3 separate regions of the Homo sapiens genome follow, and all the other regions are linked to region 3. The links are contacts of gene promoters, found by promoter capture Hi-C in blood cells and fetal thymus (Javierre and others, 2016). All regions are on one chromosome and are shown on one strand. Each heading gives the region's core, a stretch centred on a gene start or on the middle of the fragment in contact. The rest is flanking DNA. Distances are from core to core; before and after follow the strand shown. Region 1 overlaps CAPZA2 (capping actin protein of muscle Z-line subunit alpha 2). Region 2 overlaps POT1-AS1 (POT1 antisense RNA 1). Region 3 holds the start of ING3 (inhibitor of growth family member 3).

Region 1 (2,700 bases), core at 77-2,576, 4.1 Mb after region 3:
GCAATTGTGTATGATTTTAAAAAACAAAACTATTATTCTAGATTGATTTCTAAAATGCTTCCTATCAGTAACATAACACCTTTAAATGTGTTAATAATAAGCTTTATTCTAAAATCATCAAGACAAAAATTTAGAACCTAACACTATTTGCTTGGTATTACTTTTTAAAAAAGGGCTAGGAATCATGGCTCATGCCCGTAATCCCAGCACTTTAGGATGCCCAAGTGGGAGGATCGTTTGAGCCAGGAGTGTGAGACCACCCTGGACAACATCGTGAGACCTTGTCTCTACAAAAAATTTTTTTAAATTTGCTGGGTGTCCTGGCACACCTGCCTGTACTCCCAGCTACTTGGGGAGACTGAGGTGAGAGGACTGCTTGAGCCCAGGAAGTTGAGGCTGCAGTGAGCCATGATCACCACTGCACTCCAGCCTGGGTGGACAGAGTGAGACCCTGTCTAAGGAAGAATCAACGTTTCTCCTTTTTCAAAATAAGCTGTCAACAAATTAAAAATGAAGAGACAAAACCAGAAGAGGTTCTTATCAATTTTGTTTAAGAAAGCATAATGTCTGCTGGGCATGGTGGCTCACGCCTGTAATCCCAGCACTTTGGGAGGCCGAGGGGGGTGGATCACCTGAGGTCAGGAGTTCAAGACCAGCCTGGGCAACATAGCGAAACCCCGTCTCTACTAAAAATACAAAAATTAGCTGGGCATGGTGGCATGTGCCAGTTATCCCAGCTACTCGGGAGGCTGAGGCAGAAGAATCGCTTCAGCCCCGGAGGCAGAGGTTGCAGTGAGCCAAGATTGCACCACTGCACTCCAGCCTGCGTGACAGAGTGGGACTCTGTATCAAAAAAAAAAAAAAAAAAAAAAAAAAGAAGAGAGCGCATAATGTCACAAGAACATCAACGTTGGACTAAGACAAACTTTAAATACTACCTTCATCTTGACCGTCCTTGGGTGAACTACTTAAAGCTTTTGAACCTCACTCTACTCATCTGTGAAATGGTAATAGAACTACCTCTTACAACAACAAATTAAGTAATGAATGTATCTAACTGAGCCAAGCATATATAAAGTATGGTACTAGACACATCTTAACAGCTTCTCTTCCTTAAATTTGCAATCTAGAATGGAAATTTCAAAAACTTAAAAGTATTCAAAACTTAATATTTTTTTTTAGAGATGAGGTCTCGCTATGTTACCAGGCTGGTCTACAACTCCTGGGCTCAAGCGATCCTCCACACCTTGGCATCCAGAGTAGTTGGCATTACAGGTGCAAACCACCGTGCCCAGCTTAAGAGCTTATTTTTGAAAATTACCAATAAGGCAGTAGAACGAGTAATATTAAAATATCACTTTTAAGTCCTCTCTGTTTTCTGATCCCATACTGGACACATCCTCCTCCCCCAAAATGAAAATAACCTTTAGATATCTCAAGTGACAAGAACGTTAAAATTTCACTTTACTGGTTACTTGAATTTAACCTAAAGGTTTTGTCAGTTTTTAAATTAGTAAATATAGTGATAAAATTTATATGTAAAATATCTACATAATATTCTTACAAAACATCAAAAATCAAATTAGAATTTTCATTCATTTAACCATAAAACATTTTGCTACTAGGCGGCACAGGCTTTAAGACACACAACCTCCTCATTCCTCTTTATGAAGCTTAGTGCCCTGAGAGTGCCAGATAATAAGGCATCTTGTTATCTCATTTTTAAAAAACTTTTTTATTTTAGGCCTTTACAACACATGGCAGGTCTATATTAACTCCCACACCGAGTAGTCTCTCTTCAGCTAGATTTCTAGCCACTTGAGCTACTAATCATCACTTAAGAATGGTAGAATAAAAACACGACAATCTCTTTTTAAGCTTTTTAGCACGCCTCAATTTTAAATATGTTTGTGCACTCCTGTACACTTTCAGTCACCTAAATAAAATAGGATTATTTATCAAGATTATACATTGAATACTGTACAGCAACTTTTGTGGATACGGGGATCTGCCTACTGGGTCTGTGGGCTATGGAGACGTTGCTCGCCCCCATTTTGTTGTTGTATTATCACTTTCACCGAAGAACACAAGAGAAAAAAAGATTTCCGAAAATAAAGATGAGGCTGACTTCTGACCATTCACATTGGGAATGGGACAGAACCTTCTATTTCGGTGCAAGAACACAGCATATAAAAACATCTAGAGCAGAGGGTCCTAAATGAAAATATCCTCAGACTTACATGAAGATTTCTTAAACACCACAACATACCTAAATGTACCTGTATTTTCCTGCACTGGCTTTGAAATTTAAAAATGAAGCACTCTTTAACGAAGAGTGGACATTTCCAACCCTGCAACTAACTCATTCCTATGTTCTGTCAGTTACTTCTAAGGGTCCTTTCCGAGAAACAGTCAAAATTAGCAGGGTTCTCCCCTACCCCACCACCCTCGGGAATGGGACGTTCCCAAAAGCCAAACGAAAGGGGCGAATTAAGAGAGCAGCAGTTCAATGAATTATTCCATTACTCGTTTTAAATATCTGAGAACTTAAGTCGTTCATCTGGTTCCATTGCTGTCACAGCATCTAATATACAGTAAAAGGAGTTGCACATTTTCCCCTCTTCGGAAGAAGTCCTAGCAGGAAAGTGAGGTGCCACCAAATCGACCCCCGGGGGGGGGCTGCTGCCAACGTGGGCAGAA
Region 2 (2,725 bases), core at 148-2,647, 4.0 Mb before region 3:
TTTTTAGTAGAGATGGGGATTCACCATGTTGGCCAGGCTGGTCTTGAACTCCTGACCTCAGGTAATCCACCCGCCTCGGTCTCCCAAAGTGCTGGGATTATAGGCGAGAGCCACCATACCTGGCCCAACAATTCTTAAAATGAGTAGCAACTGAAGGAAAGACAATTTTTTAACTGATGAGGATTTTTTTTTTTTTTTTTTGAGACGGAGTCTCGCACTGTTTCCCGGGCTGGAGTGCAATGGTGTGATCTCAGCTCACTGCAACCTCCACCTCCTGGGTTCAAGTGATTGTCCTGTCTCAGCCTCCCGAGTAGCTGGGATTACAGGTGCCCGCCACCACACCTGGCTAATTTTTTGTATTTTCTGTAGAGACAGGTTTTCACTATGTTGGCCAGGTTGGTCTCGAACTCCTGATCTTGTGATCTGCCTGGTTCGGCGTCCCAAAGTGCTGGGATTACAGGTGTGAGCCACTGTGCCTGGCCTAGGATATTTTAAATAATAAATTAAAAAGATTTATTATTAAAGTACAAAAGCTTTTGAGAGACCTCTTCAATGGATAATAATGTTTTCTCAATTTGTGGTACCTAATATTATGTTTTAAAAATATCTTTATTTTGCTTCCTAGTATGCACTGAGTGATTACATGCTTTACCATTTAAATTTGTAACTTAAACATACATTTGAGAAAAAATTATGTTTGATTTATCTCCTGGCTCAGCTACATAACAATATAAAAATTTGATGCTTTATTGAAATAGGATTTTACAAATCCATTTAGATGTTCATTAGGATTGGGCAGAAAGAATATTAGACACAAGGAAATGAACTCCAACTAATGTAGCCTAGCTATTATTCCTAGAAAATCTCAGGAGTAAGAAGATGATATTGTCAGGCTCTAGAGATGCAACCTGATGATAACAGCTTGCAGGACAGATGGACTGCAAACAGGAATGGGTTAATCACCCCACAATTAATGCAAAGGAAATGAATTTGAAGTGCTGGACATGTTAGGCAATTCAATTTTACATGTAGACATTAACAAGTAAATAGTAAAGGATAATATGAAAATGCTATGAGAGGGAAGATGTGTCAGAAATTTGCAGACTAATTTCTTTCACGTTTGATTTATTTATGATAACTATACTGAATCCTTATATTTATACATCACTTAAAAATTACCCATTTTGCTTTTAGTCTTCATTATTTATTAATGAAAATTTAATTTTAACTTTTCTTAAAATGAACATTTTTACATTGCAGATTTTATATAAAAACTTTTTTCATTGAACCTTTAAAAGTCATAACTTCTAATAACAATTACATTAATTGTTAGCCTTAGAGTAGCTTTTTTATGCTGCTTCAACAGGCATAGAACAATAGTAATGGATTGTTTTGGCATTAATATGTCTTCATTGCCTTATTCAGTTGATTCAATCTCTTTTTTTCCTCTCTTATTATCTTAAATTGTACTGTATATTCATGAGCAATTTTCTTCATTTGTGGAAATTAATTGCTAATGTGAGGGAAAGCATTACAGGCTCTGGAGCCTCTGCCACTAATTGGGAGATTATGCAGAAGAAATAAGATTGGAAGTTACTTGAACGTGTAGGAAGTGTTGTGTCCCACAGGAACTGAGAACAACCACTTTAACAAAATAAAAGGACTTACGTATACCTCTATTAGACATCTTCATCACATTCTACAGAACATGGATACTTACAGGCTAAACAGATTATGAGAAATTTTAAAAGATTCAGTTGGTAGAAGGTAAGAGGAAAACTAGGACCATGTTGTAGCACAAAGAATGTTTTCAAAAATATGAGACTAAAAATGTCCTTTTGGGTTAGCAATAAAGAGTTCTTCAGTGGTTTTTCTAAGGGCAGTTTAAGTGTAATGGGGTGGTGGGGGGCAGGGGTGGGATGGAGGGGTGGAAGTCAGAAGTAAGATAAACAGTTTTCCTCAGCATTTGTTCATTCAACAAATATTTAGTACCCACAGAGGAGTGTGAGACTGACTGGGCAACATAGTGAGAACTCGTCTCCACAAAATTTTTTTAAAAAATTAGCCGGGTGTGGTGGCCTGTGCCTGTAGTCCCAGCTACTTAGAAGGCTGAGGCCAGAGGATAGCTTGAGCCCAGGAGTTCCAGGCTGCAGCGAGCTATGATCTCGCCACTGCACTTCAGCCTGGGCGACAGAGCAAGAGCCTGGGAGAATGTGTTTAAATGGTGACGGGAAAGAATGAATAAAAGAAGGAAAGCTTAAAATACATTAAGAGAAAATATATTGATGATGATGGAAGGGAGATGAAATTGGTCAGGGTCCAAAGCCCATGTGGAGGGCTTCACATAAAAAGGAGGAATAGTATTTCTCAGCCGGATGCAGCCAGAGATGGAAGGAGGATAGCATCTAAACCTTCCCTATAGTTTTCCTCAAATGGACAGCTCCTGAGTTCATGCACTTGTCACCCCGGCTTCTGCGTGGGATATAACTACAGGGATGGGGAGGGGAAACAGGAGATGGGCTAATACTGAATGCTTCCTGTTGATTAAAAAGGCACTTCAAACATAGCTGGCTGGGCACAGTGGCTCATGTCTGTAATCCCAGCACTTTGGGAGGCCAAGGTGGGCGGATCACAAGGTCAGGAGTTCGAGACCAGCCTGGCCAAAATGGGAAACCCCGTCTCTACTAAACAAATACAAAAATTAGCCAGGCATGGTGGCCTGCGC
Region 3 (2,776 bases), core at 270-2,769:
AGAGTCAATGAGTAAATTAGTAAAGCCCTAAAACAAACTCAGATCTGACATCAATGTCTGTGCTCAGTCCTGCAGAGAACACTACTTCAGCAAATCTTCAGCATTTCAACTACACTAAAATTAAAATGAATTTGTGAGATAGCTGGAGAACCACACACACAATTCATACTTCATATCACAATCCACTGAACAGAAAGTGGCTTCCATGCCACCACTTTTTATTATGTGCCACCTGAAACTTACCGGAAAAATATACTCATAAGCAAAGGGTATAGAAGTGGGTGTGTGGTCATGGGCAGAGAAGCCAGGAGCAGTGAAAAGGACAGGTTCTTAGCTGCAGCAGGTGGTCCCTGAGCCACCTATTTATAGTCGTTGCTCTATGAAAGAGCAAAGTTAATTTGGGGAAAAAGTCCTAGAGACTACCAAGCTATCACTGAAAGAAAAAGAAATGTTCATTAACTGCTAAAATTTTTAGTACAGCACATAAGAAACTTTACAGTGAAATCTAATTTCTGTCACTCATTTTAACCAAGAAAATGACGATTCTGTTACAATTTAAAATGTATCTAATGTGTAACTAAGTTTTCAAAATTTGACATTTGCCATGGTCTCTAAAGAGCTATATATAACCTCTGCTTCTGTGCTTTCCACTCTTGAAAAACTGTGAATAGGATGAACTTTAAAATAAGTATAAATGCTGAAATCTAAGTTCGATACGAAAAGGCTCAAGACGACATCTCAACATTTATTATGCTGACGTCCATTGAAACATAGATAACTATGTCAATGACGGTAGAGAAATATTTTTTGCACAATCCCACATTCTAGAAAGGAATACACGTGTCCCAATGCCTCCTGCTCTTGCAAAAGCCAGAAAAAAGTAGCATGGGAGGGAAGGGGAAGGCGAGATTCAGGGCTGCCAGTTCTTTTTGACAACTCCTTATGCACTAGCGGAGTGAGCCAGAGGACAGTGAAAGAGCACTAGGCGCTAGCAGTGATGACAAGCAAGTCTGGCACTGAACGCGCGCAGCGAACAGGAGTAGTAGACGCGCCGACTTACTCTGCACCTGCAGGTCCATCTCGCGCATTTCCGTGAAGCGGTCCCGCAGATCCATAGGAAGCTGCTCAATCACTGTCAAAGGGAGAGTCCGTCAGAGGGGCGGGGCCAACGGCGAAATACGCGCTTACGTCACTGCGCGCGTGCGTCAGGGGGGTCGAGGGGGCCGGCAGCCCACAACGAGGCTGCCAGTTACCGTGAGAAAGAAACATCCCCCGCCGCCCCCTCCCTCCCGCCATCTCGCTGCCCGTCCACTCGCGCTCTTGCCCGCCCGCACGTCCCACTGGCGGCCGCCGCCAGCGCCGCGCACTCACTTTCCAGATAGTCTTCTAGGTACAACATCGCGGCCCTTAGAGCTGAGGGAACAAGGGGGTCCAGGGGTTTATTTGTGTCACTCGCTGTCGCCGGAGTTTTGTCCCCTCCAATATGGCGCCTCCGCTAGCAGCACCCGCTCGACTCCGGCAAAAAAAAAAAAAGAAAAAAAAAAAAACCACTTTGGCGCCTGAGGCGCTTGCCTCACTGCCGCCCGGAGCTGCTATTGGTTGGTTCAAGCAATGACGTAGCCCGGCCGGTGTTCGCCCCCGTGCCTCTGTGGGAAATGTAGTTTTCTTCCTCCTCAGCGAGGGTTGGCGCGCTGGCGGCTCCCCTCGCAGAAACTACGAATACCGGGCGCCATTGCAAACAGTGCGTAACAGAATCCGAAATGCGGTGCCTCTGTTTATTTGTTGATTTTTGCACAGAGAATGGCGGGAGTTGTATGCACCTGCATAACACAACTAGGAACAACTTTTCACCTGTTCTTTGATGTGATTCCATGCCCCGGCGTTTGTGAGTTATGGGTTTCAAGAAGTGCCAGGCAAATAGCAAAGGTTCTAAACACTAGAATAATCAGCAAAGTTCGGGGAATTTGGATTGCTTAAAATAGAACTCTCTACTGGAATTTATCCTCATTATTCACTCTAAAATATAAAAGAGACACCTGGTTGGCTTACGTGTAATTTTAAAATAGTTTATACTGAGACTATGGAGTGAATATACATTTCCCAGATTAAAAGATGCACAAATAGTGTCAGTAGCCACTTATATATTCTAGTTTGCGGTCCATCTAATCGTCATTCTAATGTAATTGATCTATACATACAATCTGCATCCGCAAATAATAATAATAATAATCTTCATCATCACAGTGAGCAGCCATGAATTACGGATGCAGCCTTGATTTCTAATAGGCTGTTAATAGCAGTAACTTTATGTTGAGTAAATAGTCCATATTCGAGGTTGGTTGTCTTCGGCGTTCTTTAGTTTCTACTTTTCGACCTCTCCCAGCAAATGTTTTCCTGTGATATATTTAGTACGTCCCTACTCAGTTTCTTTTTAAATTGTTTTTTATTAAAAACTCTTGCACTCAATAAATGCTAGATATTGTTATTTTCCACTCTTCTTAACTTTTCGATTTTCTGGGGAAATTGTCATTAGTTCATAATTTATTGTTCATTTTCTGTTTTTCAAATTGCAGTTGAAACTGTGTGTGTGTGTTTCTTGCTTTCCTTCTCCATTACATACTCTTGTACTCAAGGTTTTCACTGCTCTTAAGCAGGAAACTTTCCTGTCGTGAATGATGAATCATGATGAATCTCAACGGAACCTTACTTCGATCCTAATAAGAATTAGAATTTTATAGTTTCTAGTTAAGTTTTTCATTACTTCCATCGAAAATCA

Evidence for each region. The method cuts DNA at HindIII sites, captures the fragments that hold promoters and counts their contacts. A CHiCAGO score of 5 or more calls a contact.
Region 1: a fragment that was not itself captured here is called in contact with the fragment with the promoter of ING3 in region 3 in 1 of 17 cell types (non-activated CD4 T cells); the score reaches 6.9 in non-activated CD4 T cells.
Region 2: a fragment that was not itself captured here is called in contact with the fragment with the promoter of ING3 in region 3 in 1 of 17 cell types (non-activated CD4 T cells); the score reaches 10.0 in non-activated CD4 T cells.

Annotation. Positions count from the first base shown.
Region 1 is chr7:116,863,354-116,866,053 of GRCh38, reverse strand. All of the region lies in intron 1 of CAPZA2 (capping actin protein of muscle Z-line subunit alpha 2), which reads right to left. Among named protein-coding and RNA genes, the nearest start is that of CAPZA2, 2.1 kb to the right of the region's middle. The HindIII fragment of the contact is 699 bases long and covers 977-1,675 here.
Region 2 is chr7:124,930,814-124,933,538 of GRCh38, reverse strand. The region is part of intron 1 of POT1-AS1 (POT1 antisense RNA 1); the gene reads right to left. Among named protein-coding and RNA genes, the nearest start is that of POT1-AS1, 2.3 kb to the right of the region's middle. The HindIII fragment of the contact is 1,723 bases long and covers 536-2,258 here.
Region 3 is chr7:120,949,520-120,952,295 of GRCh38, reverse strand. ING3 (inhibitor of growth family member 3) reads right to left here and starts at 1,519. Exons shown (of 12, transcript NM_019071.3): 1 at 1,372-1,519; 2 at 1,061-1,132. The coding sequence starts at 1,399. RefSeq lists an enhancer at 897-976. The HindIII fragment of the contact is 9,487 bases long and covers 1-2,776 here.